Regions from separate parts of the Homo sapiens genome. Here all the other regions are linked to region 1. The links are contacts of gene promoters, found by promoter capture Hi-C in human tissues and cell types (Jung and others, 2019). All regions are on one chromosome and are shown on one strand. The core of a region is centred on a gene start or on the middle of the fragment in contact, and the rest is flanking DNA. Distances in the headings are between cores, read along the strand shown. Region 1 holds the start of MYC (MYC proto-oncogene, bHLH transcription factor). Region 2 overlaps CCDC26 (CCDC26 long non-coding RNA). Region 3 has its middle 12 kb from the start of LINC00977. Region 4 has its middle 61 kb from the start of LINC00977. Region 5 overlaps LOC124902023 (a long non-coding RNA gene). Region 6 has its middle 79 kb from the start of LINC00976. Region 7 has its middle 130 kb from the start of LINC00976.

What was found. The method cuts DNA at HindIII sites, captures the fragments that hold promoters and counts their contacts. A contact is called where the count stands out against the background at its distance.
Region 2: a fragment that was not itself captured here is called in contact with the fragment with the promoter of MYC in region 1 in 2 of the 25 tissues and cell types used here (dorsolateral prefrontal cortex and hippocampus).
Region 3: a contact is called between a fragment that was not itself captured here and the fragment with the promoter of MYC in region 1, in 1 of the 25 tissues and cell types used here (adrenal gland).
Region 4: a fragment that was not itself captured here is called in contact with the fragment with the promoter of MYC in region 1 in 2 of the 25 tissues and cell types used here (aorta and hippocampus).
Region 5: a contact is called between a fragment that was not itself captured here and the fragment with the promoter of MYC in region 1, in 1 of the 25 tissues and cell types used here (dorsolateral prefrontal cortex).
Region 6: a fragment that was not itself captured here is called in contact with the fragment with the promoter of MYC in region 1 in 2 of the 25 tissues and cell types used here (H1 embryonic stem cells and spleen).
Region 7: a contact is called between a fragment that was not itself captured here and the fragment with the promoter of MYC in region 1, in 1 of the 25 tissues and cell types used here (H1 embryonic stem cells).

What each region holds. Positions count from the first base shown.
Region 1 is chr8:127,734,494-127,738,748 of GRCh38, forward strand. It overlaps MYC (MYC proto-oncogene, bHLH transcription factor), which reads left to right and starts at 1,738. Exons shown (of 3, transcript NM_002467.6): 1 at 1,738-2,130; 2 at 3,755-4,255. The coding sequence starts at 2,101. RefSeq lists a cis regulatory region at 1-966 and a silencer at 1,454-1,643. The HindIII fragment of the contact is 14,684 bases long and covers 1-4,255 here.
Region 2 is chr8:129,502,055-129,506,309 of GRCh38, forward strand. All of the region lies in intron 1 of CCDC26 (CCDC26 long non-coding RNA), which reads right to left. Among named protein-coding and RNA genes, the nearest start is that of MIR3686, 20 kb to the left of the region's middle. The HindIII fragment of the contact is 3,405 bases long and covers 182-3,586 here.
Region 3 is chr8:129,251,611-129,255,865 of GRCh38, forward strand. No RefSeq gene overlaps it. Among named protein-coding and RNA genes, the nearest start is that of LINC00977, 12 kb to the left of the region's middle. The HindIII fragment of the contact is 4,602 bases long and covers 49-4,255 here.
Region 4 is chr8:129,178,231-129,182,485 of GRCh38, forward strand. No RefSeq gene overlaps it. Among named protein-coding and RNA genes, the nearest start is that of LINC00977, 61 kb to the right of the region's middle. The HindIII fragment of the contact is 7,709 bases long and covers 1-4,255 here.
Region 5 is chr8:129,080,963-129,085,217 of GRCh38, forward strand. All of the region lies in intron 1 of LOC124902023 (a long non-coding RNA gene), which reads left to right. Among named protein-coding and RNA genes, the nearest start is that of LINC00976, 120 kb to the left of the region's middle. The HindIII fragment of the contact is 5,866 bases long and covers 1-4,255 here.
Region 6 is chr8:128,884,833-128,889,087 of GRCh38, forward strand. No RefSeq gene overlaps it. Among named protein-coding and RNA genes, the nearest start is that of LINC00976, 79 kb to the right of the region's middle. The HindIII fragment of the contact is 8,069 bases long and covers 1-4,255 here.
Region 7 is chr8:128,831,483-128,835,737 of GRCh38, forward strand. No RefSeq gene overlaps it. Among named protein-coding and RNA genes, the nearest start is that of LINC00976, 130 kb to the right of the region's middle. The HindIII fragment of the contact is 3,977 bases long and covers 438-4,255 here.

The DNA.
Region 1 (4,255 bases), core at 488-2,987:
TTTGTTTTTCATGCCGTGGAATAACACAAAATAAAAAATCCCGAGGGAATATACATTATATATTAAATATAGATCATTTCAGGGAGCAAACAAATCATGTGTGGGGCTGGGCAACTAGCTAAGTCGAAGCGTAAATAAAATGTGAATACACGTTTGCGGGTTACATACAGTGCACTTTCACTAGTATTCAGAAAAAATTGTGAGTCAGTGAACTAGGAAATTAATGCCTGGAAGGCAGCCAAATTTTAATTAGCTCAAGACTCCCCCCCCCCCAAAAAAAGGCACGGAAGTAATACTCCTCTCCTCTTCTTTGATCAGAATCGATGCATTTTTTGTGCATGACCGCATTTCCAATAATAAAAGGGGAAAGAGGACCTGGAAAGGAATTAAACGTCCGGTTTGTCCGGGGAGGAAAGAGTTAACGGTTTTTTTCACAAGGGTCTCTGCTGACTCCCCCGGCTCGGTCCACAAGCTCTCCACTTGCCCCTTTTAGGAAGTCCGGTCCCGCGGTTCGGGTACCCCCTGCCCCTCCCATATTCTCCCGTCTAGCACCTTTGATTTCTCCCAAACCCGGCAGCCCGAGACTGTTGCAAACCGGCGCCACAGGGCGCAAAGGGGATTTGTCTCTTCTGAAACCTGGCTGAGAAATTGGGAACTCCGTGTGGGAGGCGTGGGGGTGGGACGGTGGGGTACAGACTGGCAGAGAGCAGGCAACCTCCCTCTCGCCCTAGCCCAGCTCTGGAACAGGCAGACACATCTCAGGGCTAAACAGACGCCTCCCGCACGGGGCCCCACGGAAGCCTGAGCAGGCGGGGCAGGAGGGGCGGTATCTGCTGCTTTGGCAGCAAATTGGGGGACTCAGTCTGGGTGGAAGGTATCCAATCCAGATAGCTGTGCATACATAATGCATAATACATGACTCCCCCCAACAAATGCAATGGGAGTTTATTCATAACGCGCTCTCCAAGTATACGTGGCAATGCGTTGCTGGGTTATTTTAATCATTCTAGGCATCGTTTTCCTCCTTATGCCTCTATCATTCCTCCCTATCTACACTAACATCCCACGCTCTGAACGCGCGCCCATTAATACCCTTCTTTCCTCCACTCTCCCTGGGACTCTTGATCAAAGCGCGGCCCTTTCCCCAGCCTTAGCGAGGCGCCCTGCAGCCTGGTACGCGCGTGGCGTGGCGGTGGGCGCGCAGTGCGTTCTCGGTGTGGAGGGCAGCTGTTCCGCCTGCGATGATTTATACTCACAGGACAAGGATGCGGTTTGTCAAACAGTACTGCTACGGAGGAGCAGCAGAGAAAGGGAGAGGGTTTGAGAGGGAGCAAAAGAAAATGGTAGGCGCGCGTAGTTAATTCATGCGGCTCTCTTACTCTGTTTACATCCTAGAGCTAGAGTGCTCGGCTGCCCGGCTGAGTCTCCTCCCCACCTTCCCCACCCTCCCCACCCTCCCCATAAGCGCCCCTCCCGGGTTCCCAAAGCAGAGGGCGTGGGGGAAAAGAAAAAAGATCCTCTCTCGCTAATCTCCGCCCACCGGCCCTTTATAATGCGAGGGTCTGGACGGCTGAGGACCCCCGAGCTGTGCTGCTCGCGGCCGCCACCGCCGGGCCCCGGCCGTCCCTGGCTCCCCTCCTGCCTCGAGAAGGGCAGGGCTTCTCAGAGGCTTGGCGGGAAAAAGAACGGAGGGAGGGATCGCGCTGAGTATAAAAGCCGGTTTTCGGGGCTTTATCTAACTCGCTGTAGTAATTCCAGCGAGAGGCAGAGGGAGCGAGCGGGCGGCCGGCTAGGGTGGAAGAGCCGGGCGAGCAGAGCTGCGCTGCGGGCGTCCTGGGAAGGGAGATCCGGAGCGAATAGGGGGCTTCGCCTCTGGCCCAGCCCTCCCGCTGATCCCCCAGCCAGCGGTCCGCAACCCTTGCCGCATCCACGAAACTTTGCCCATAGCAGCGGGCGGGCACTTTGCACTGGAACTTACAACACCCGAGCAAGGACGCGACTCTCCCGACGCGGGGAGGCTATTCTGCCCATTTGGGGACACTTCCCCGCCGCTGCCAGGACCCGCTTCTCTGAAAGGCTCTCCTTGCAGCTGCTTAGACGCTGGATTTTTTTCGGGTAGTGGAAAACCAGGTAAGCACCGAAGTCCACTTGCCTTTTAATTTATTTTTTTATCACTTTAATGCTGAGATGAGTCGAATGCCTAAATAGGGTGTCTTTTCTCCCATTCCTGCGCTATTGACACTTTTCTCAGAGTAGTTATGGTAACTGGGGCTGGGGTGGGGGGTAATCCAGAACTGGATCGGGGTAAAGTGACTTGTCAAGATGGGAGAGGAGAAGGCAGAGGGAAAACGGGAATGGTTTTTAAGACTACCCTTTCGAGATTTCTGCCTTATGAATATATTCACGCTGACTCCCGGCCGGTCGGACATTCCTGCTTTATTGTGTTAATTGCTCTCTGGGTTTTGGGGGGCTGGGGGTTGCTTTGCGGTGGGCAGAAAGCCCCTTGCATCCTGAGCTCCTTGGAGTAGGGACCGCATATCGCCTGTGTGAGCCAGATCGCTCCGCAGCCGCTGACTTGTCCCCGTCTCCGGGAGGGCATTTAAATTTCGGCTCACCGCATTTCTGACAGCCGGAGACGGACACTGCGGCGCGTCCCGCCCGCCTGTCCCCGCGGCGATTCCAACCCGCCCTGATCCTTTTAAGAAGTTGGCATTTGGCTTTTTAAAAAGCAATAATACAATTTAAAACCTGGGTCTCTAGAGGTGTTAGGACGTGGTGTTGGGTAGGCGCAGGCAGGGGAAAAGGGAGGCGAGGATGTGTCCGATTCTCCTGGAATCGTTGACTTGGAAAAACCAGGGCGAATCTCCGCACCCAGCCCTGACTCCCCTGCCGCGGCCGCCCTCGGGTGTCCTCGCGCCCGAGATGCGGAGGAACTGCGAGGAGCGGGGCTCTGGGCGGTTCCAGAACAGCTGCTACCCTTGGTGGGGTGGCTCCGGGGGAGGTATCGCAGCGGGGTCTCTGGCGCAGTTGCATCTCCGTATTGAGTGCGAAGGGAGGTGCCCCTATTATTATTTGACACCCCCCTTGTATTTATGGAGGGGTGTTAAAGCCCGCGGCTGAGCTCGCCACTCCAGCCGGCGAGAGAAAGAAGAAAAGCTGGCAAAAGGAGTGTTGGACGGGGGCGGTACTGGGGGTGGGGACGGGGGCGGTGGAGAGGGAAGGTTGGGAGGGGCTGCGGTGCCGGCGGGGGTAGGAGAGCGGCTAGGGCGCGAGTGGGAACAGCCGCAGCGGAGGGGCCCCGGCGCGGAGCGGGGTTCACGCAGCCGCTAGCGCCCAGGCGCCTCTCGCCTTCTCCTTCAGGTGGCGCAAAACTTTGTGCCTTGGATTTTGGCAAATTGTTTTCCTCACCGCCACCTCCCGCGGCTTCTTAAGGGCGCCAGGGCCGATTTCGATTCCTCTGCCGCTGCGGGGCCGACTCCCGGGCTTTGCGCTCCGGGCTCCCGGGGGAGCGGGGGCTCGGCGGGCACCAAGCCGCTGGTTCACTAAGTGCGTCTCCGAGATAGCAGGGGACTGTCCAAAGGGGGTGAAAGGGTGCTCCCTTTATTCCCCCACCAAGACCACCCAGCCGCTTTAGGGGATAGCTCTGCAAGGGGAGAGGTTCGGGACTGTGGCGCGCACTGCGCGCTGCGCCAGGTTTCCGCACCAAGACCCCTTTAACTCAAGACTGCCTCCCGCTTTGTGTGCCCCGCTCCAGCAGCCTCCCGCGACGATGCCCCTCAACGTTAGCTTCACCAACAGGAACTATGACCTCGACTACGACTCGGTGCAGCCGTATTTCTACTGCGACGAGGAGGAGAACTTCTACCAGCAGCAGCAGCAGAGCGAGCTGCAGCCCCCGGCGCCCAGCGAGGATATCTGGAAGAAATTCGAGCTGCTGCCCACCCCGCCCCTGTCCCCTAGCCGCCGCTCCGGGCTCTGCTCGCCCTCCTACGTTGCGGTCACACCCTTCTCCCTTCGGGGAGACAACGACGGCGGTGGCGGGAGCTTCTCCACGGCCGACCAGCTGGAGATGGTGACCGAGCTGCTGGGAGGAGACATGGTGAACCAGAGTTTCATCTGCGACCCGGACGACGAGACCTTCATCAAAAACATCATCATCCAGGACTGTATGTGGAGCGGCTTCTCGGCCGCCGCCAAGCTCGTCTCAGAGAAGCTGGCCTCCTACCAGGCTGCGCGCAAAGACAGCGGCAGCCCG
Region 2 (4,255 bases), core at 634-3,133, 1.8 Mb after region 1:
ATCTGACAAAGATTTTATAGCAGATCATCATTAAAAAATGTTTCAAGTAGAAATTACAAACATGCTTAGTGAAAAAATATAAATATTAAGCAAACAAATAGAAGATATAAAGAAGAACCAAGTAGAAATTGTAGAACCAAAAAATATAATAACTAAAATAAAATATACAATAAATGGAATCAATGAAATAATAGTGGGTACAGAAGAAAGAACCAGTAAACTTAAACACAAAAGAACAGAAATTACCTAATCTGAATAACAGACAAAATATATAATGTGTATTTTTTTAAAAAGATCAGAACCTGAAGGACCTGTATGGCTATAACAAAAGATTTAACATTCATGTCATTAGAGTTCTGAAAGAAAAGGAAAAAGGGGGTGTGTCTGAAAAAAGTTCAAAGAAATAATGACCTCATGCCAAATTTGTTAAAATGCATAAATCTACAGATTCAAGAAGCTAAGTGAATTGCAAACAAAATAAACACACAAAAATACATGCCAAGAGCCATCACAGTAAAGCTTCTGAAAGTTTAAAACAGAGAAAAATAATGAAATCAGGGTGATAAGGATGACATCTTACCCATGGGGAAGAATTTGAATGAAAGTATATTTCTTATCAGAAACTATGGAAATCAGAAGGAAATGTAACAATATTTGTTAAGTGAAATAAAAGAATTGTTAAACCAGATCCTATATTTAAGGAAAATACACTTCAAAAGTGAAGGGGAACTCAAGACATTCTGATGTAGAAAAACTGAGAATTTGTCAGCAACAGACATGTCATAAAAGAATAGCTAAAGAAAGTTCTCTCAACAGAAAGAAAATGATTAAACAATCAATCTTAGAACATCAAGAAAGAGGCCAGGCACAGTGGCTCACGCCTGTAATCCCAGCACTTTAGGAGGCTGAGGCAGATGGATCATGAGGTCAGGAGTTTGAGACCAGCCTAGCCAACATGGTGAGACCCCGTCTCTACTAAAAATACAAAAATTAGCCAGGTATGGGGGTGCACACCTGTAGTCCCAGCTACTATGGAGGCTGAGGGAGAAGAATCACTTGAACCTGGGAGGCAGAAGTTATAGTGAGCCAAAATCACACCACTGCCCTCCAGCCTGGGCAACAGAGTGAGACTCTCTCAAAAAAAATTTTTTTTAAAAAAAAAGAACATTAAGAAAGAAAAAAGAAAACAGTAGGCAAAAATATAGGTAAATACAATGGACTGTCACTTCACTCTGGAGTTCTCTAAAGTTATGCTTAATAGTAGAAGTGAAAATTATAAAGCTCTCTGATATAGGTCTCAATATATGTGGAAGAAATGTTTATAATATAATATACCTAGAGTAACCACTTAAAAAGCTATATAGGCCAGGTGCGGTGGCTCACGCCTGTAATCCCAGCATTTTGGGAGGATGAGGCAGGCAGATCACAAGGTCAGGAATTCCAGACCAGCCTGGCCAACATGGTGAAATCCCATCTCTACTAAAACTAGAAAAATTAGCTGGGTGTGGTGGCGGGCGCCTGTAATCCCAGCCACTCAGAAGGCTGAGGCAGGAGAATCGTTTGAACTCAAGAGGCAGAGGTTGCAGTGAGCCAAGATCTGGCCATTGCACTCCAGCCTGGGTGACAAGGCAAGACCCTGTCTCAAAAATAAAAAACAACAACAACAAAATAAAGCTATATAAACACTCAAAAATACTATACATCAAAATGGAATTCTAAAAAGTATTTAAGTAACTATAGAAAAGCAAGAAGCAAGTATAAACTTGAAAAACTGATGTAAAAAACAGAAAACAAAAAAAATTCTAGTAATAAGCACTACAATATAAGTGATTACAAAATGTAAATTTTAGGCCAGCTGTGGTGGCTCACGCCTGTAATCCCACCACTTTGGGAGGCTGAGGTGGGTATATAGTCTGAGGTCAGGAGGTCAAGACCAGCCTGGCCAACATAGTGAAACCTCATCTCCACTAAAAATACAAAATTAGTCAGGTGTGGTGGCAGGCACCTGTAATCCCAGCCACTTGGGAGGCTGAGGCAAGAGAATCACTTGAACCTGGGAGGCAGAGGTTGCAGTGACTCAAGTTCGGGCTGTTGCACTCCAGCCTGGGCAACAAAAGTGAAACTCTGTCTCAAAAAAAATAAATAAATAAATGTAAATTATATTAAATAAATCAATTCAAAGAGATTGGCAGAGTGGGTTAAAAACATAACTCATTTATATGCTGTTTACAAGAAACTCACTTCATATATAAATATTAAAAGAATAAAAAAGATCTACAAACTAAGCAAAGAAAGACTTAAGTAACTATATCAATATCAGATAAAGTAGATAAAGTAAACTTCAGAGCAAAGCAAATTATCATAGACACAGAGGGACATTATATGATGAAAAGGTCAATTCAGCAAGAAGACATAGCAATCCTAAAGTATATAGACAACAGTACTGCAAATTATGTGTAGCAAAAGCTAATAGAATTAAAAAAAAATTTAAAAATATAGTTGAATAATTTAACACCTCTCTCTCAAAAATTGATGGAACTAGATAGAAAATTATCAAAGTATAGTAGATTCAAAACACAATCAAATGTCATAATCTAATTGACCTTTATAGAACACTCCACCCAACTGAAGCATAATACACATTATTTTTCAGTTTCCATAGAACACATACCAAAATAGATCACATCCTGGGCCATAAAACAAATGTAGAAGAATTGAGATCATACAGAATGTATTCTCCAGCCATGATGGAATACAACAGAAATCAGTAACAGAAGGTAACCGGAAAATACCCAAGGAACAAAAAGGAAGGTAATGTTTCTACACATTGCTTAAACTGGTGAAGTGATGGTATCAGCAGACTGTGGTAAATTATAGAAAAAGATAGATAGATGATAAATAATGGATGGACAGATAGATAGACATACAGATAAACAATATACTTCTAAATAAGCCATGAGTCAAAAAGGAAATCTAAGGGAAAATTTAAAAATTCATTAACCTGAATAAAAATTAAAATACTGAATATCAAAACTTGTTGTAGACAGCTAAAGCAATGCTGAGAAAAAATATATAGCATTAAGTGCATACATTTAAAAAGAAAAGCCATATATAACAGACCCACAGCTAATATCATACTGAATGGGGAAAAACTGAAAGACTTTCCTCTGAAATCTGGACTATGACAAGGATATCTACTATCACCATTGTAATTCAAAATAATACTAAAAGTCCTAGCTAGAACAATAAGACAAGATAAAGAAATAAAGGACATACAAATTGAAAACAAGTAAATCAAATTATCCTTCTTTGCAGATGATATGATCTTATGTTTGAAACAAATCTAAAGACTCCACCAAAATACTATTAGAACTGATAAACAAATCCAATAAAGCTTCAGGGCACAAAATCAACGTACAAAAATTAGTAGCATTTTTATATGCCAACAGCAATCTGAAAACAAAAATCAAGAAGGTAATCCCATTTAAAAGAGCTACAAATAAAATTAGATACCTAGGGATTAACTTAACCAAGGAAATGAAAGATCTCTCCAACAGAAATTATAAAACATATATGTAAGAAATTGAAGAGGGCACAAAAATTTGAAAGATATTCTATGTTCAAGGATTAGAAGAATCAATATTGTTAAGATGTCTATACTACCCAAAGTAATCTACAAACAATGCAATCTCTATTGAAACACCAAGGATATTCTTCACAGAAATAGACACAATTCTAAGATGTATATGGAACCACAAAAGATGCAGAATAACCAAAGCTTTTCTAAGCAAAAAGAACAAAACTAGAGGAGTCACATTGCCTGACTTCAAATTATACCATAGAAAAAAAAATCCTACATTTAAAATAACTAAAAGACCGAAAACTATTGAAAAAAATTTTAATAACAGAAACAGCATAATTGGATTGTTAAAAACACAAAGGATAAATGCTTGAGGGGATGGATACCCCATTTACCCTAATGTGATTATCATGCATTGTGTGCCTGTATTAAAATATCTCATGTAACACATAAATATATACATCCACTATGTAGCCACAAGATTTAAAATTAAAAATTTAAGAAATAAAAAGAATAAAAGTCTTAAATTAATGGCTAAGCTCCCATCTCAATAACTCAGGAAAGAAGAACAATATAAATGCAAAGCAAGAAGGAAAGAAATAACAAAGTAAAAACAGAAACCGATTATATTGAAGGCATAAAACCAATAGGGAAAATTAATGAAACAAAGAGCTA
Region 3 (4,255 bases), core at 1,100-3,599, 1.5 Mb after region 1:
TGCAAATGTCACCTCTTCTATGATTTCTCTCTCAGCTTCCTCCTCCCAACTGTTGGCCTCCTTAACTCTGCTTTCTTAGTGCTAAGTTCATATTTTAGTGCAGGGGTTGGCAAACTATAGCTTGTGGGCCAAATCTAGCCTGCTGCCTGGTTTTGCGTGGCCCAAAAACTAAACATTGTTTTCACATTTTTTAATGTTTGGAGAAAAAAGTCAAAAGAGGAAGAATGTTTTGTGCTATGTGAAAATTATATAAAGTTCAAATTTCAGTGGCCATGAATAAAGTTTCATTGGTACATAGTCATACTCATTTGTCGATGTATTGCCTAAGGTCACTTTTGCACAATCGCAGAGTTGAGTAGTTGCAACAAAGACATACAGCTCAAAGCCTAAAATATGTACTATTTAGCTCTTTATAAAAAAAAATGCTAACCCCTGCATTGGAGTACCATCACATGGTGTTTCAGAGGATTGGGCTCTCATGTTTTGGAGATTTTTATATCTCCTGCACCCAGCAAAGGGCCTTATTCTTCATAAATAATTTAGAGAGTATATGAATGAAATAAAGTGATATGTGGGAAAGATGGTGCACCAAGAACAAAGAGTCTTGGACACCAGTGCCGTCTCACTTATTGCATCTATCAGAAATACTCAAAGTAGGATAATTTGATACACACTTTTCAAAAAAGAATGGTTCAATAGCTCAGAGCTGTTAACTGCGAACTTGCTACCATCTGTAGACTGAAAGGAATCATTCAGGATCCCTAAAAAAGAAAATCATGTACTGTCAGCTGCTTTGAGGGTACCTGTAGGCTTCCGCAGAGATACACAGCCAACTGATAGGAGCCCTCAGGGAAGGAGCCAAGAAAATAAATACCCCGACCTCATCTTCTTCCTTCTTTCTTATCTTCTGTTGAGTCACCCTATTGGCAAAACCTAATAAGCACTTGAGCCATGTCAATGGCATGCATAGAAGTTGGCTCCTGGAAAAGAGGGCCAATGGAGCAAATAGGCAATCTGGGGGGGGAACGGGAAGATATCCTACACACAAACTTAGTGACAAGTCACATGTATTATTCAGCCTTCAATTTCTTCACCTATAAAGCAGGCAAGTTAGGTTAGAAGATCTTTATAATAACAATAACTAAAAGAATAATAACAATAATAAAAGTTATTTGTTGAGACCTTGTTATATCCCATCCATTCATTTTGTCAAACAGCCTTCAGCATAAATATCATCCCCATTATTCACATGAGAAAACTGAGGCACAGAGAGATATTGTAGGATACTCATTCACATAGCCAATAAATTGTCCAATTTGAAACCATACTTTCCTCCCACGTTTTTGCTTACCATTCCTCAAATCTGGTTGCAATGGCTGGGATAACACCTGCTCGATGTTGCTGCTGTCTTGCAAACTAAACTCAGTCCCAACTACTCATGTTTAGCTTACCTGGTCAGCCCTCTTAGATTTACTAAATGTGCACAGCCCTCCCTAATCTCACACCTAGTTTCTTATGGTCATCAATTTCAGTCAGTGTCTACCCAGTGGATGAATTGAGACATCCTGGAAGATCAGAATGCCAAGGAAATATGGTCCTTCATACCAAACCTCTTTCTTGTTACTATCGTGATATAAGACATGGGAAGGAGTCCCTGTAACGGAGACCTCTGATGAAAGATGTACCCGTGTTTTCCAGGAAACATGTTGGAGGCTGGGTCCTGAAACATGTTATAGGTCTGAACCCTGACATGTTTATTTATTTATTCTGAGCAATTTGCCCAACCCTAGAAGCCTTGTACATCATAACATGGATGTGCTTTCTTAATTATTCATGCCATTAATAATTGACACCATTAATAACACTGCAATACCGTTAATAATTGAGCACATAAAATGGAATTCTCTGGAATTAATTTATTATCATTAATTTTCTCTGCCAGCTTGCTCATTAGAATTGTAGTCAGGCTCTGTGCATCAAATTATTTAACTTCTTCAGGCTTAAAGGCCAAGGAATCATGGAATGCACTTCAACCACTTCCTTTTCTTGCTATTAACAGATCCCCTTTCACCTTTTCGCTCTCTAGGAAAGAGGGGAAAGCTTTTCATAAACAATTCCACAGCATTCAGCATATGCTCACTGCTGGCTTATAAAATGTGGGTTCAAGAATACAAGCAAGGAGGAAAGCTGCCTATGGAGACACACAGCCTTGCAACAAACGTGCTCTCAGGGCTAACAGTGCTCCCAAGCCAGGTCCAGAATTCAGCTCCTTTCTTGCCATAGACCCAATGAGTTGTGGTGCTCACCATCCCTATTTAAAGCTTTGCCACCTATCTGCTCTTCCAGGATCCCTCTTCCTTAAGCTGGACAAGGCAGAATATTCCTACCTCCCTCAATCTCTCCTTGATGCTATCTTTGAAGACAGGCCCACTGACCCTTTTAAGAATTTCAGAGCCAATTACAATAAAGAAACTGAAAGGAGTGAACAAGAATTATCTACGTAGATAATACACACAGGCTCAAATTTTGATGTTAGAGATCCCTAATCCTCACGCAAGGCACTGAAATTTATTGAGACTAATCTCTTTTTCTAGAAATGGGTATAATAACTATGGCAAAGGTAAAAGTGGTAGTCCTGGAGATGCACTGCCCCAGGACCACATTCTAGGGAGGGACCTGATTCCCAGGTAAAGGAAAGTGTTAGCAGACAGCTTCCAGCTGTCAGCTTCTTCAAGATCTGAGCAGGTACACAGAATAACTTATGTTAGGTCACACACTTCCCAGGTAGGATGACCAACTCATTTGGTTTACCTGGGACTTCCCTGGCACCAAGTCCTGCATCCCAGGATGGGTCTCTGTGCTGGAGCTTGACCCTATGGGTACATCTGTAAAAGCAAAGACATTTGCCCTCAACATCTGACAAGGACAATCTTTGTGAAGTTCTGGGTTTATTGTCTGGAACAACAGACAGCAGTTAAGTCTGTTCTTCTCCCCACCCCGACTCCCTGCCCACACCAGCTGAGCTGAGTACAGCTGCCCACAAAACCCACTGGGATATTCTGACAAGAAAATTAATGCATTATATTCCTCCTATGAACTCCCAAAACACACCATAACTTCCTAATGGTGCTCTCTACATTTTGTCTTTTATTATAGCTATTGCTGAACTTGTCTTCCTCTCTCTCGGGGACTGTGAGCCTCAGACCTCATGCCAGTTACTGACACATTTGTGTTTGAAGAAATGAGCAAATGATTGGCACACTGCAACCTACACTTCTCTCTCATATGCCCATTAAACTTTAAGAGAATTCCCAACATCGAGACATTAAACGTATGTGAAAACCTGTGACATTCAAACCTAGGTTCTCTGACCTCCACCTGAAATCCTAAAATCTGTTTTGCTTAACTCTTAGGTTTGTTTGTGCATAAATGAATCTGTTAAATAATAGATGCAAAATCACTTTAGAAATTATTTATGTAAAAGGTTAAAGCTAGAAATACTTCTATATCTGTGTTTAAACATAGTCTAATCCAGTCTTTAAGATAAGCCAACCTTTGTCAATTTGGAATTGCTGTTCCAAATTGTAATGAAGCTTTCTGATAAAAAGAAATAAAGAAATTGATATTATCCAGTACCAGATACTTATTGCTAATCTTCTCTTAATGTATTGCATGGTTCAGTTTGCATTTTAGGAGCTTTGAAAATCTTATCTCTGCATACTGTATTTTCCCTTATGCTTCTGCAGGTATCTATAAATACATATGATCATGTGCTCTAGAATGCAAATTGTGGCTGTTTTCCCATCTCTCTGACCTCATTTAACCTTTCTCCTGGATTTAGTCCTCCTGACTAACCTGAGGGACAAAATTCACAGTTTCACCTGGATGCTTTGATGAAGGATACTTAACCCCAGTGATAGAAATAATCTTATCTCCATTGAAACTTATCAACTATTAATTAGTTCACTCACTGACCAGGGCTCCATCTGCACCAGATGATATTAAATGCTATAAGAAAAGTAAACCTCTGGGATACAGAGGCCCTAGAATTTGAAACTGTTTACTTTCCTGCTATTAGGGTTTGAAATTGTTTACTATCCCAAATTAAGTATAAAACACAGCTTCAACAAAAAATGTTATAGTAAGTATCATCATCTGACATACTATATATTGATTCATTTATGTGTTTATTATATATATGCCTCCAATATAATTTCAATGAGGTTAAGGATTTATGTAAGGAGTACCTATCACA
Region 4 (4,255 bases), core at 737-3,236, 1.4 Mb after region 1:
CTCCTGTCATTCAGAGGCACAGTTAATCTTAACTGTTATCAAGAAGAAAGATCAATACTAACAGCAGAAACACCAGCTAGCCAAGATCAACACGATGTAGCCAAGCCTTCTTCTCCCAGGTGCCCCAAGATCTTTGAGTATCATCAGGCAAATGTGAACAAGCACGAACACGGAGATAAAGAGAGTCCCCATTTATTGAATACCTGCTACAGGCAAGGTACTTTTACATAAAGTACTTTTACATCTTCATCTCTAATTCTCAAAGAAATCTTATGAAGTAAGTATTATTATTTTATTTTTATAGTTGACAGGACTTAATGCAGGGTTCAACAACTTTGGGATTGGAGCCTAGGTCTGAAATCTCAGTTTCTTTCCATTACCACATACTACCTGTAGGTACCATGAGATCAAAACAAAACTATGCTACAATAACAGTCTTATATCCTTGTTTCTTTCTTTTCTTTTCTTTTTTTTTTTTTTTTTTTTTTGAGACGAAGTTTCGCTCTTGTTACCCAGGCTGGAGTGCAATGGTGCGATCTTGGCTCACTGCAACCTTCTCCTCCAGGGTTCAAGCGACTCTCCTGCCTCAGCCTCCTGAGTAGCTGGGATTACAGGCGTGTGCCACCATGCTAGGCTAACTTTTTGTATTTTTAACAGAGACGGGGTTTCACCATGTTGGCCAGGCTGGTCGTGAACTCCTGACCTCAGGTGATCCACCCTCCTCGGCCTCCCAAAGTGCTGGGATTACAGGCATGAGCCACTGTGCCCAGCCTATCTTTGTTTCTTTATTACCAAAACACTAAAACACAAAAAGGCATTAAGAAAAATGGAATGCAAACTCTTTTGCATCCATAACTCAACTTGGGAAATTTAAAAAGCAAATCACCAATCATTGTAGCTCTCCCTGATCACAATGTGCTTCTTCCTGAAGGCATAATTTCTTTTCAGCACTTCTGCTATGAAGTATCCTTCTTTGTATATTGGATCACAGCGACTGTTTGAATCATCCCCTTCTTGTCCACCCAGCTCTCATTGTAAACGTTGAAACTGAGGCCCAAAGAGGAAAAATGGCTTTGCAAGTTCAAACAATACTATTATCCAGGTTTGGGAGCCCCGTTTCAGTGCTTCCTTGTATCATGCTGCCCTTGCAAAAATGAAACACTCCTTTGCTACAAGTATCTATTTTTATTTGTTTTCCTAAACAATGGAATCATAGCAATTGAATTCGTTTGGAAATGATGGAAGAAAAGTATAAATTTAACTTGAGTTCATCTATGCCTAATGCATCAGAAATTATAAATTATCTTCTAAGAGTAAACTGAAAAGTGTTCCAACCTTACTTAGCAACTAGGAATTAGAGGGAACACATAGGCAGGCCATGGAAGAAACCATATTTTCCCTCTTTTCAAATGGAACCCCTCAGGTCCCCAACATTCCTAACACTGAGGGATGAGTTTGTACTTGACAAATGACTGCCTGGATGAGAGGCCCCCATTCATTACCCATAGCCTCAAGAATGGGCCCTGGTGAAAAGTGCTTAGAAACAGTTTGTGCGGAAGCAGGGCCCTTCTGATTCCATTTATCAGTGGTATCTTTTGAAGTGGCTTCCTTCAACCTTGGCAGAAGCTCAGAGTGCCACCAGCGTAGGAAGAACTGCCACCCACAGGCTCCATGAGGCTTCTCAAGGCGTGGGGTAGGTGGAGGGGGCACCTCACAGCTGGAGTGGGGCTTTGCTGAAGACGAGACTTAACCAAGGAAAAAGAGAATAGAGACCCACTGACTCATGGCTTTGGCCACTTCCAAGTTATTAGGAATTTCCTGGACCAGGGATTGCACACAGAGTTTTTCCTTCTGGGATAAGATAAGTCACTGGGGCCTTTTTCTTAAACAGGAAGGGAGAAAGAGATTCACTGCCACGATGTTTTAGGGACATTATCAATACAAGCTTTGTGTATTTACCATTAACCCCTTCAGATCCATTTTCACCCTTCTTCACCCAACTGTGCTGCCCATGAACCTGACATTTTAGAGGCCGTATCTGTGAGCCCTTGCCACTGGGCTGCCAGTTAGCTTTGGCCAGTTGGAGGCATTTAGTAAGAGATAGGAAGAGCTGGAAAAGAGTAAGGTCACAGTACTTATTCCTGCAGCCCACTTTCTGCCAGCTCACCATGGGTCTATTGAGTGCCTGTCCAGTGGTCAAGTCACTAACAAGCAGTTCTCTCCATAGGACAACCCTTTCCTCTAAGTCTAAGAGTGGCAGTCAGAGTGGCAGGATGGGCACATGGCCGATGCTAGGCCAATCAGATTTTTTTCCTCAGGAATTTGAATCTTAAACTAAGTGAGACAGAACTGAAGAAGTCAGAGCCTGTTGACACCTGTGTTGGAGCCTTGAATTAAACAATGTTCAGTGTCTCCTAATAGATTCCCAGGGCTACCTTGGTTTCCTTGGTTCTATTGGTTTTATTTTGTTTTGTTTTGAGACAAAGTTTTGCTTTTGTTGCCCAGGCTGGAGTGCAATGTCACGATCTTGGCTCACTGCAACTTCCACCTCCCAGGTTCAAGCAATTCTCCTGCCTCAGCCTCCCGAGTAGCTGGAACCACAAGCGCCCACCAACACGCCCGGCTAATTTTTTGTATGTTTAGTAGAGACGGGGTTTCACCAGATTGGCCAGGCTGGACTTGAACTCCTGACCTTGTGATCCACCCACCTCGGCCTCCCAAAGTGCTGGGTTTACAGGCCTGAGCCACCATGCCCAGCCTGTTCTATTCTTTTTCAAGTTGTGGTTCTTCGGTGATTCCTTTAACTTGAATGTGATTCATGCACATTCAAGTAAAAAGGAAGCTATAACTGAAGAAACTGAAGCTCAGAGCATTGTAGTAACTTGTCCAAGGCCACACAGCTAGTAAGTTAAAAAACGTGAGATTCAAATTCAGGTTCATTTCCAAAACACCACACTGCTTAGATGGAGGCAGGTTTTAGTAGTTTGTAACTTGTATAAAGAGAATTGAGGAAGGCAATCTAATTGTTAAAAGCTGAGTTGGGCAAGTGGATGACATATGCCTAGTACCTGGACAAAGGGAATACAGCATAGAGAGAAATTTAGAACCAATAAAATTATATTTTATACATTATGTGGCCTCCAGAAGATCAACCAGTGATCAACCTATAAAACTATGGTCGTTTGCAGCGGACTTTTTATTTTGATTGTTAATTCTCTTTCTCCTTTTTCATTGCTTGCTCTCTCTTCTGAAAGACTACAGGAAAAAAAGAAAAGCTGGTATTTATACCTTACTGACAATGGGATTTTATTGCATATGGTATCTCAATTTTTACAATTATCCTGTGCAGAGACTATTTTCATGCCATTTCTCAGGGACAGGAAATTAAGGGCTTCATTTTCCAGGGTCTTACGCCGTAATTGTGAAAAAACAAGCTCAGGACTCAGAATTTTGTCCATCAGCTCTTTCTCTATTGCACCGATATTTCTCAAAAAGGATGCTCCTGGCATCAGGGATGTGTTCATGGGACGATTCTTTACATTATAGGTTGTTCATCATCCTTTGCTCCTTCTTCCTTTATTCTAGTGGTACTATCCTCAAATCCTTGAGATAATCACAAAATTATTACCCCTGGTTGAGAACCTCAACACCACACATACCTATTAATATATTTCTTCTATCCCTTTCTCTCCTTGAATCCCTACATCCATCCTTTTGGCTTTCTAAACATATTGGGAAATATCTTTGTTGCTGTTTTTGAGAGGTAATAGATGGTGACAGCTAGCAGAGGATTGGGTATGTGGTCCTATATGAGGAAATCCTGGTACCTGAAGATGCAAAGTCTTCTAACCTCTGCTAGCTGCCTTGTGAGACGTCAGTGATAAGGAGTCATAATTCTAGAGGCCTAATTGGCACCTGGGACTTACCATAGAATGCTCTAATTTGTTTGAAATTTAAATGTATATGTTGATAGCATCATATAATTTAAGAGTTTAGTTAGTAAACAGATATTTATTGAGCATATAATATATACCTAGCATTGTCCTAGTTACTGTGAATACAGTGGTGTCTTGGTTCATTCAGGCTGCTACAACAAGAATATCATAGACTGGGTAATTTGTGAAAAACAAAAATTTATTTCTCACAGTTCTGGTGGCTGGAAAGTCCAAAATCAAGGCACCAGGAGATTCAGTGTCCTGTGAGGGGTGTGTCTGCTACATGGATGGTACCTTCTTGCTACATCCACACATGGTAG
Region 5 (4,255 bases), core at 708-3,207, 1.3 Mb after region 1:
ATGGGGTTGGCCACATGGTTTTCTTTGGTCAATGGTCAATGAGATATAAGCAAGCCTGAAGTGCACAGAGGTATGAAAAGCACTGTGCACTGGGGCTTGTCTTCTCTTGCTGCTGGTAACTCTTCTGCTACCACATGCAGAAACTCAGGATGACCTGCAGGATATATGTTGCCCCACCAGCAGCTAGCACCCATGGCCAGGTGTATGAGTGAAACATCTGCCTTGGCTTGAATGTGGTATTTCCTCCAAAATTAATGTTGAGACCTAATCACCAAAGTGATGGTATTAAAAGGTGGGCCCTCTAGAAGGCTATTATGTCATAGGGTCTCTACCCTTATGAATGGGAGTGGGTGCCCTTATAAAAAGGCTTGCCAGAGGGAGTTCATCCCTTTATGTCCTAATGCCAATGGCAGCAGCATTCAAGGCATCAATTTAAAAGCAGAGACAGAACCCTCACCAGACAATGAAGTTTCCAGCAACTTGATCTTGAACTTCCCAACCTCCATAACTGTGAGAAATACATTTCTGTTCTTTATAAATTACCCAATCTGTTGTATTTTGTTATAGCAACACAAAGGGCATGATTTCATTCTTTTTTTATGGCTGCATAGAATCAAATCATTCAGCTGAATTTGAGATGACAATGGCTGCAGCTGCATAAATGATCCCAGGTGAGACCAGAAGACCTATCCAGCTAATCTCAGCCCAAATTATGACCCAAAGTGTCATGAACAAATAGAATGGTCATCCTTTTAAGTCAATAAGCTTTGGGATGGTTTGCTATGTGGCAAAGGCTAATTGACATAGAAAAAATACCTAGAAGAGTGCTGCTGTCATAAAACCTAAAACAGGAGTGATGAGCTTTGGGAATGGACAGTAGGTGGAGAACGAAAAAGTTGTGAGAAAGCTGTTATTTACATCTTGTAAAGTAGTGAACACAACTTTTTTATGGTCTTGAAAAGTGCTAAGGAAACTGCCTTTGGAAATTGGAAAACAGTTGATTTGTGTTATGCAGCAGTGTCAAATTGTCATCTGAGTTAGCTGAAAGAAAATATTCCTAATGAATTTGCAGATCTGGCTAAGGATATTACCAGGAAGAACTTTGAAAGTGACAATTGGCTTCCATTAGCTGCATCTGAAAAGGCTGGCGAAGCATGAGATGAGCTAAAGAGAGAACTCTTGAGATTGCAAGCAATATTCAAAGGAATTGTAATGTAATCAGAATTTTCTACATTGAAAAATAAAACTGTTTCACAGCTTTAGTCTCTCCAGATAGCAATAAGATTTCTTATGTAAGAAATGGCCTCAGATTAAAGATCAAATCAAGAGTGTGATTTGATATAACTCCTTGTTAAGATCCCTAAAAGATTGAAAGTTGTACTTAGTAGACCCTCTCAGCTAAACAAAATTGCTTTTAAAAATCTTAATTGCATGTTCCCATAGAAGCTTAATCTCAAAACAGCCCTAAAATGTAGTGGGAGAAGGCTTTCCCAAAAAGAATTTTGGCTGTGGATTTTGAGTACTAGACAAAGGGATGTAAGGTGATACATAGCAAACCCAAAAAGGTTTTAAGGAAGTTATACAATCTGAGATTAAAGGAAATTGAGACCGTCCTCTGGACCCTTCCCCCTACCAAAAAAAAATTTTTGTTTTTGATAAGAGGCAGCCTGAAAAAGAAAATAACTACTTTACAAAATTTTTATAGCATGAGGTGCAAACTAATGCAGGAACAGAAAACCAAACACCACATGATCTCACTTATAAGTGGGAGCTGAACAATGAGAACGCACGGACACAGGGAGGGGAACAAAACACACTGGGACCTGTCTGGGGAGGGCTGTGGGTGGGGGAGAGCATCAGGACAAATAGTTAATGCATGCTGGGCTTAACACCTAGGTGATGAGTAGATAGGTGCAGCAAACCACCATGGCACATGTTTACCTATGTAACAAACCTGCACATCCTGCACATATACCCCGAAACTTAAAATAATAAAATAAAATAATAATTTAAAAAAAGAGCACAGGCAAATAGTAGTTTATAGATCCAATCCCATGAGCAAAACCACAGTAGGGGGCCTGACAACACGTACTTGGCTTTATTTTATGATTTATTTTATGATTTGCCTCCCATTCCTTCCTCTTTTGAATGAAAGTACTATGAATGTTTTGTTCCTGTTTCATCATTGTATATTACATATATGAGGGTAGGTAACTTGTCTTTTCATTTGTCATGTCTGAATCAATGGGAATCATAGCCTAGGAGCTACCCTCAAGAAGCTTCATCTGTATCTAGACCTAATGTGGATTATGAGATTAACAGCTTTGGGTCTGATATCATGATTGAATGACATTTTAGGGCTCTCCCTAGGGTGTTAATTTATTTGGCATGTTAGAGGAAAATGAACCACTGGAGTCAAAGAGAAGACTGTAGGCCTCTTATGCATCATGCCTCCCTGTATGTATGTCTTGGGTAATTTCTTCCCATAGTGGCTCTGGGCTTGGCCATGTGACTTATTTTCACCAATGAAACTTTAGGAGACGTGATGCAAGCAGTCACTTGAAAAGTGTTTGTGCATTGGGATTTGCTTTGTTTTGCTGCTGGGGACCCTGCACCCATGTGAAGAATCATGGGCTAGCCTGCTGGAAACACATGACCCAGCTAAAAGCCAGCACATGCCATAGAAGTGAAACGTAAACTGTCTATTCCTAGTTAATCTTCTGTATGACTGAAACTGCATCAGTGATCCAAGGGGCCAAGCAAAACAACTGCCCAGTCCAGGTTGTTGACCTACAGTTTCATGAGAATAAGTTGGTGTTTTAAACTACTGGGCTTTGGAGCATTTTGTTCCTCAGAAAATGCGAATATGGCTTTCCCAAGGTAAAGATATTTAAATCGAGGTATGAAGGTTCAGTGGAGATTCATTACACAAGGGGGAAGAGGAGCAATATTCCAAATAGAGGGAATAGCATGCATAAAGAAGAACCTGAGGAAGGCATGCAGATGCTAAGTTTGAATGTCTAGAAGAACATCAAAGTGGCTAGGACTAGAAGAGTGAAAATAGTATGAAATAAGTTTGGTGAGGCAGAAGTAGCCAGATTACGCATGTCTTCTTTATTCATCTGTTATTGCTACAATACGGCTGCATAATAAACCACCCTAAAATACATTGACTTGCCACAACTATTACCCATCATACTTCTGCCATCAAGTTTGGGATTAACTGCCTAAACTGAGCTCAGCTACACAGCTTTGTTTCAGAATGGGAGTGAGTCCGGGCTTGGCTCCTCACTGTGGTCTGGACTCAGGTCTTGTCTACATGTTTTCATGCTTAGGCCCAGTCTGAAAGGGCAATAGCTGCCTGGAAAACTCTTCTTATGATGATAACAGAGGTGCAAGAGAGAGACCTAACCCTAACCCCAACCCAGCAAGCACATCTATGTTTTCATCTCATCTGCTACTATCCCTTTGACCAAGGTATGTCACATGAATGATTTCAAAGTCAAAGCGAAGGGAGTACTTTCTGCTCACAAATACATCTCACAAAAGTGAGTCACACTGTTCATCACAGCATTATTCATAGTAGCCAAAAAGTGGAAGCAATCCCATTAGAATGAATTTTAAAAATTTATACTGGTACCATAGAATACTCTTCAGCAATAGAAACAAAGCACTGATACATGCTACAACATGAACTTCAAAAACATTATGCTAATGAAAAAAGCTAGATACAGAGGACTACAGATGTGTGATTCCATTTGTATGAAATTTCTAGAAAAGACAAATCTAGAGAGACACAAAGTCTATCAATAGTTGCCTAGGGGAGGCAATGGGGATTTACTGCAAATAGGCACAAGGAAACTACATTAATGGAAATGTTCTAAAACTGGACTTGGATGATGATTGTACAACTGAATCAATTTACTAAAATTTACTGAACTGTTCACTTACAATAATCAAATCTTGTGGCATGTAAATTATATCTCAATACAGGTATTAAAATGTGTAACTAATGGACTGAATGAACTATGTTATGTTTATGACAATGAAACATATTCAAAGGCACTATTAAATGATTGACCTGATACAATTTGGAAATGCTTGCAAAGCTCTAGCTGACTACTGTTTTTCCTTAAGCAATTTCTGAGGTTAATTATTTTTTTTCTTCAAAAATATCACATGGAATTTTAGAATAATTTTCTTTGGTTATTCAGCTTTGGTTGTAAATAGTAAACATATTTTTAAATTGTGTCCT
Region 6 (4,255 bases), core at 1,083-3,582, 1.2 Mb after region 1:
TGGGGGTCGTTTTGGAGTTCAAATGAGTCAACATATGCAAAGGGCCTACAAGTACCTACCAACTAGTAAACAAGGTATCCCTTTCCTTAATACTGCTGTTTATTTTTTAAAAAGTGAATGAGATAATTATCTAGAAAAGTAGTGTTTTTGTGGATATAAGTTTGTCAATCAAGGGCAATTGTTTTCCACCCAAATATATTTGAATATTCTTGAGTCTTAAATAAATTTAATATTTATTTACAACATGTTATAAATATAATATGCAAATATAGTATACAAAATAACACCTGATTGGGTGGCTGGCAATTTATGACACCAGGAATAATAGAGGTAAAACCTTTAACATTTTGTTTTTATAATTTATAAGTTTTTCATACGGCTCACAATAAAATCACATATTCAGTCGGATCAATAATCATGAAAACTGAGACAACAGAAGTAACACCGATGGAAGAGAATAAAATTGTAAAAAAAAAAAAAAGGATTATATGGTGACAGTGCTTGAGCTTTTGTCAGGTATTCAGCTTCCAAATAGCTGAAGCAAAAAAGGGAAACATGAAGAATTATAAAAAGTCTCAACTTTTATGCAAGGAACCCCATTTACATTATCTCATTTAAGAGCCACAAATTACTTACAAGGTTAAAAAATGAAGTACACTGGTGTCAAGTATCTTTTCCAGCTTCCATAGCAACCAAGGGCAGACCATAATCCATCTAACTAGAAACTCTATACTCTTTCCACAGCATTGTGCTCAGAATGAGGGGAGTGTCTCGCCCTTTCCCTGCTGCCTCTGTCTAACAAAGATGTGACTCTGATCATCATATAGAAATATAGAATTCCTAAAACCAATATAGAATGCCCAAAGAGCCTGAATAGCCAAAGAAATCCCAAGCAAAAAGAACAAAGCTGGCAGCATCACATTACCCAACTTCAAACTATATTATAAAGCTATAGTTACCAAAACAGCATGGTACTTGTACAAAAATAGACATATAGATGAATGGAACACAATAGAGAAACCAGAATTAAGCCCAGACACCTACAACCATCTGATGGTCAACAAAGTTGATTTAAAAAATCAATAGGGAATGGACTCCCTATTCAATAAATGGTGCTGGAATAACTGGCTAGCCATATGCAGAAGAGTGAAACTGGGCCCCTACTTTTCACCATATACAAAAATTAACTCAATGTATATTAAAGATTTATATGTAAGACCTCAAACTATAAAAATCCTAGAAGAAAACTTAGGAAATACCATTCTGGACATCAGCCTTGGGGAAAAAAAAAGTATGACGAGGTCATCAAAAGCAATTACAACATAACCAAAAATTTACAACTGGGAACTAATTAAACTGTAGAGCTTCTTTACAGCATAATAAACTGTCATGGGCATCAACAAAAAACTTGCAGAATGGGAGAAAGTATTCACAAAATTTGCATCTGACAAAGGTCTAATATCCAGAATCTACAAGGAACTTAAACAATTCAACAAGCAAAAAACAACCCCATTAAAAAGTGGGCAAAGGACATGAACAGACACTTCTCAAAAGAAGACAGCCAACAAACATAGAAAAAAATGCTAAATATCACTAATCATCAGAGAAATGCAAGTCAAAACCACAATGAGATACTGTCTCATGCCAGTTAAATGGCTATCATTAAAAAGTCAAAAAATAATACATGCTGCAGAGGCTGCAAATAAAAGCAAATGGTGGTAATGTAAATTCATTCAACCATGTGGAAAGGAGTTTGGAGATTTCTCAAAGAGCTTAGAACTAACCTTCAATCCAGCAATCCCATTACTGGATATATACCCAAAGGAAAATAAATGATTCTACCAAAACTACACACACACTAGTATGTTCATTGCAGCACTAGTTACAATAACATACATGGAATCAACCTAGCTGACCATCAATGGTGGATTGGATAACGGAAATGTGGTAGGTAGAAAACATGGAATACTACACAGCCATAGAAAAGAACAAAATCATACCCTCTGAAGCAACATGGATGCAGCTAGAGTCCAGTATCCTAAGTGAATTAACACAGCACAGGAACAAAAAAGCAAATACCACATGTTCTCTCTTATAAGTGAGAGCTAAACATTGGATACATATTGGCATAAATATGGGAACAAAACAATAGACATTTGGGACTACTAGATGGGTGAGAGAGAGAGAGCAAAAGTTGAAAAATTACCTATTAGGTACTATGCTCACTACTTGGGTGATAAGATCATTAATACCCCAAAACTCCACATTCAAAATATGCTTTATACAGCTATACATGTAACAAAACTGTATATGTACCCCCTGAATCTAAAATAAAATTTGAAATTATAACAAAAGAGAAACATAGAATCTTTATTGTATTTACTGCCCACAGTCTGCGGACGCAGAATGGAGAGGATTCAGTGTCATGCTACACATGGCTTAACCTATTCAATTTACAACACTCCTTTAACATAAGGATGATCACAAACCCCATTTTATGAACGTAAAACTGAGACACAGACCAGTTGAATGAGTTGTCAGCTATCACGTCATAATCTAATAGATGACATAGCCCATGTGGACGCTACACCATTTGGTTCCAGACCCCAGGTCTCAATTACTACAGTAGATTACCTTAGTAAAGCCTGTGACTTTGATCCCATCTACCTATGAGAAATAAGGAAGCCCGTAAGGCCAGGAAATGCTGGAAAGAAGCAGAGTGGAAATCTAAGACCCCAGTTGAGTTTGGGGTCCTTCCACATAAAAAGCATTTAGTCTGTGTGGTTTGAACCTGAATCACCTGCTAGGGAGGCCTGAAAGGCTCTGATCAGTTGCCAAGGATCCAAAGCCTTTAGAGAAAAGGAGACTAGACCTCAGGATAAAATAGGCTCAGAGGAGTGAGGAGGGAGGTGGGAATGCTTTTTGGTGGAGGAAAGAACATCTTCCCTGGGTATCCTAAAATTCCTTCTCTGGGATTTCCAGGAAGTAAAGAGTATATGTCCCAAGCCAGGATTCTTGGCTCCATTATCTGAGTATACTTACATGTGGTAATTAACATTAATATATCAGTATGATTTCCAAAATCTTAAAATCAATGGCTTAATTCATTGCTTAATGAAAATAAATCTTCTACCAATAGTGTTCTATCCAACTTATCCTTTCTGAGTCATTCTGATGATTATTTCTGTGGGAATTTCTGGATCTCTCATAGTGATGATAATATGTTGATTGACTGATGATTGATTGATTCACAGTCTTGTTGCAGAAATGTTTTAAGCAGCTTCCTTAAAACATAGCAAGTTACTGTAAGTTGGCCCAAGGTAGAGAAGAAAACAAAATTTTTTTAAAGGAAAAAGATTCAGAATGACCTTCCAAATTGCTAGGGAGCGATCACAAATTATTTTAAGCATTACAGCAGTCACTGAAAAACAAGAACAGAATAAAACAAAAAAAAGGTAGTCACACAACTCTATGTGTACATAGTAGATAGAAACGTGCACTAGGTACTTAACATGACTTTTCTCTAATCCTAGCAAAATCTTTGCAAGATAAGTAGCATCATCTCTGTAACTACAGTAGGAATTAGGACAGAAGTCTAGCTCAGTGTTCCACTGATGTAATATTTGAAGCCAAATATATTTAGTTCCCGAGTCTGTGTTCCTGTCAAAGAAAGATGCTGTTTCTCTTCATTGTGCGTGGAGAAGCTTTAGTGGACCTATAACCTAGTGGGTTTTCTTTTTTCTACCTTCCTTTGCAGAGATTCTAGGGAAATGTATGAAGTTGCAAAGTGATTACATTACAGGAGGGCAGCCAGCAAACCTGCCAAGTTGAGTGTGAGTATTTGTTCAATACTTACATCAGGGTGAAGTTCAAAGACATGCAACTCTTGCAAAAAGCCAAGACATAGGTCTTTTAGACTGAGCCCCTTGCAGTTTCTTGAACTAGTTTCTCAAGTCTATTATCTCCACCTGCCACCTCCCTGTGTTCTTGTGAAAGGAAACCCCTCAACCCATATTTTATAAGCTCAAATGAAGCCTTTCCCCCACATACTCTCTCTTACCAGCAGATTCTGTATCTTTTTGTTATACTTGGCTGGACAGTCGTGATTGATACCTGCATACTGCCCTTCTAATCCCAACTGTGTAGCTCCATAGCAATCTCACTTCTGAAAGAGCTGTCTTTACATTTTACACTTGCGAGAGGCCAACTTTTCTGTCTATAGAATAAATGTTGGCACTTCACCATGCTTTCTAAG
Region 7 (4,255 bases), core at 1,176-3,675, 1.1 Mb after region 1:
TAGAAGATGGTGAGAATGAATCCAAAGTGCCAACTGTTCATATCCTGAGAAATACCTAAGCTTTCAGTATTGCTAGAAAAATGCAACTAACTTTTATTGAATATCAGATATATTTGAAGTATTATGTTAGCCACTTTGTACACACAAGTTCATTCAATCTTCAAAATCCTGTTGCTTATCATCATCATCGTTTTGTAGAAAACAATACAGGCTCAAAGAGGTTAAGTAATTCGTTCAGGTCCACATTGCTACTAAATGTTGACCCCACGGTCTCATTTGTCCCTTCTTCCTTCAAGTTCAAAAATATTTGTCTTCCATCTTTTTCTTTTGAGGAAGAACTTACTTAGAGTGTTGTAAAGCATCCTGAGCCATCACTGGGCAGTTTGAACTGTTATAAAGTTCTTTATTATTACTGTACCTAAACCTCATTTTTCTACACTCCACTCCTTCGGAACAAATTCAATGATTCTAGTGTACCTTGTACAGAGTAACACTGTGTGTGGATGTGTGCTTTATCAGTTTTACTCTTTTTCTTTCCTTTTTTGGATGTTCTTCCAGACTACTTTGAGCTAGGATTACAATTAATGCTATAAATAAACAAGCCCCACTAATGTTTTCAGCCCAAGTCCATGTTTACAAGACAACTCTTTATTATGAAGTATGGTTGTTCTTAAGTTATCCAACCAAGGCAAGGCAAACGTATAAGGGAATTCGGGGAGACAATGAGTATAAAACAAACCATTGATTTCTTTTGTAAGTTATTCAGAGAAGATGTATTGTATCTATTAGAGGTTATAGCCCATTGCACTGTAAGCTTTTCCAAGAGAGAAAGAAACAACAACAATGATTTGTTCCCTGGAGAAAAGTATGCCCACCAGTGACTGGTAGAATGAGCCACATGATCACACTCCTTTTCTCCCTGCAATTACAGTACAACAAATGCTCTAAACTAATCAGCAGACAAATGACTGTTACAATCTGCTTCAGCAGCCTACATTTCAGAGCGAATATTTAAAGCCTTGGTCTTTTCTAGGCAAATTCTTTTGAACTTCTGTCCTAAGCACAGAGCTGTTAACAGTTTCCCTAGATAAATAAGATCCTGATGTGATGGTAATACCATCACTGTGATATATTTATTGTTCAATTTTCCTAGACCATTTCAGGCAACGAGTTTATAGAGCAGTCATATTATTGCTTATGTGCAATAGGCTAGCATACGTTTTTTACATGCTTGTCACCAACAAGAAGATGCTGTTTCATTCTTTTGTACTAGAAATTGTTATTCTCTTTAAATTGGGGAAAAGTAAACAATAGAGATGAAGAGCTCTTGAGTTGGTAAAGGAGAGTTTCCCAAATCACCCTGTTCTGTTCTTTAGGTTTACAATCCATTTAAATTCTCCATTACAAGTATATATCCTTACAAGTATATAGGTATATAATACAGCTCAGTGAAATTAAGTGACTAAAACCCATGCTGCCTGATACTGAGATAGCCAGTCTTGCATAGAGAAGCTAGAGTTAAATGGCGTCCATGCGTATCACCAAAGGAAAATGTGAATATTGAGAGCTAGATCTGCATGAGTTTAAATTTCAGTGAGAGCTTCCACTATCCCAGAATTCTTGATATTTTTATTGGGTTAGGAGAAAAATAAACTTTAAAGGTGTGTGTGTGTGTGTGTGTGTGTGTAAAGTGGAAGAACAGAATTCACAGAATAAAGCTTCAGCAGAATATGGAGGTGCTAACTGACAACTCTGAGAAAAGGAAGCTCAAGGGACACTAAAAACAATCCCATCTGCCTTTGTGAAAAAGTGAATCTGAATGAAGGAGCAGTCAGGTTTCAATGCTCCATGAGCCAGAAGAACCCCATCTCTGGTGCCTGGTCTCTGAGAACACTTAGCAGTGACTAGATTCCCCCTATACATGCTCTCTCCATTACTCCAGTAACTGGAGCCAGCTTTTATGGCATGAGAAGAGCGGCATCCAGGGTAAAGCTGTGCTGGGTCCCACACTAGCTGGGGACTTGCAAATACCATTTGACATCTGTTTTTGCTCTGTATAGCATGCTCCTGTGTGTATATTTCTAGTATACGCTAGGGTTTAGTATCTGCTGTTGGGATAGGGGAGACACTTCTGGTGAAAAAAAATAAGAATGAATTATTTAGGGAATTTCAGAGGTAAGCTACATAAGCAAATGTGTATACATATATATATAATAGAGGTAAGCTACATAAGCATATACACTATATATATATATATATATATATATATATATATATATATATATATATATATATATATAATAGTTCTCTGGCTTGCTGAAACAAAATAAAAGTTAAATAATTAGCTGTAGAGAAAAAAGAGCTCCAGAATTGGTCTAGGGATCTAGTTGGAAGGATCCAATGAACAGTTATTTCAGGACACCATGGATGAGATAAATCTATGATGGGATTTCAGCATTTGTACCACTCCATTTAAGGAGAAAGCATTTTATTGATGTAGCTTGGACACCCAGCCCACCCGTTTTCTGGAAGAGGTCAGGCCAACTTGATTGTCTTTCCATGGTACTATGGTGTAGGGCAAGCTTATCCAACCCATGGTCTGTGGGCTGCGTGCAGCCCAGGATGGCTTTGAATGTGGCCCAACACAAATTTGTAAGCTTTCTTAAAACATTATGAGATTTTTCTCTTTTTTTTTCATATTTTTTTCAGCTCATCTGCTACTGTTAGTGTTAGTGTATTTTTTGTGTGTCTCAAGACAATTGTTCTTCCAATGTGGCCCAGGGTATCCAAAATTGGAAACCCTTGGTATAGGGGGAATCCCTCAAGTGACACACAATGCACTGAATAAGAAAAGGGGTAAAGGATGCTAGGTAGAAACAGAGAAGACATCATGGTCATTAGAGGAGTGGAAGATATGGTACTTAGTACAGATGAGGCAAGAAAATAAAAGCAAAACATAAAAACAAAAGGAAAAGATGAAGTATAAAGAGAAAACCAAGAAGACAAAAAGAGAAATAAAAGAAAATAGCTGGAAAAGTAGAAAAGAATAAAGAGGAAAAAGCCATTGAAAAGAGAACCATTTACTCTAATCCTTGGTCAATGACTGACATCAATATTATTACTTTCTTTAACTGAAGAAATTGAGGTTTAGTGAATATGAGTGACTTGCTAATAAGCACACAGAGTAGAGTTGGCAGAATTGGTCAAAACCAAGAGTTTTTCTATTGTAGAATTTTCCCCTTGCAATCATCTTTTTGTCCAGAGACTATGAAAGAGATCTCCACCAAGCCCAAAAATGTTTTAATAATCAAAGAGAATTACCCATTTTTTACAGTTATTGTGTACTAACTGGAAGGCAGGCCACACTGGTCAAAAGCCAACTCAATTCAATTCTGTATTAAAGGACAAGCCATGTGCTGCTGAATTACAGGGACAGGGAAGTCAGATGTCAAATTGGGAGGGGCTAGAGGGAATCAATGCAGTAGATTTTTAAGACTGAGTTCTCCAGGTGGCAGCCAGCAGACAGAAATAGCCTGTTTCTAACTTAAGGAAATTTATAGCCCTAGGGGACTGCATATCAGAGGTTAACTCACATACATGTCACAGGTTAATGCTATAAAACGGTGGTTTGGAATCAAGAACACAACTGGACATGCTCAATGTGCATATGGCAAAATGCTACAAGATGCCATTAATATATTGAATGAAATAATCAGAAACCCAATGACTTCTACATCCAAAAAAAAAAAAAAAAAGAGCCAACTATTAAAAGGAAGCATGAAGTAGGGCTCTCAGTAATGTCCTAAAATGAGATCTTCCAGTTTTGGGTCTTAGAGAAATCCAAGATCCATATGCACTCATGGTGTAATATCGCTACCACAAAACTAATTTAAACTAGGCTTTCAACTAAAGAAAACAAATGTCCACAATTAAGGAAGAAAGAGTCTACCACCCTTGCAGGAGTCCTGTTAATTAGCTACAGTTACGTCCCTTAAATGATTTGAACAATAACACCCTTCTGGTGTCATAGCACTTTATCTCCTTAAAGTGTGATTTCCAGCCAAGTACCTAGAATTGAATGAGAGTTCTCTGTTAGGAAGAGCAACACAGAAGAAGAAGCTACCATGAGCATAAATTCAACCTGGAGGAAGTCTGATTTGCTGCATTTTTTCGGGGGCTACAGTTGGTCTTCAAGCACCTGGGATGATTGAATTGGTTCTGTGACGTCTCAGCTGCCCTCCTGCTAATGTTGAGG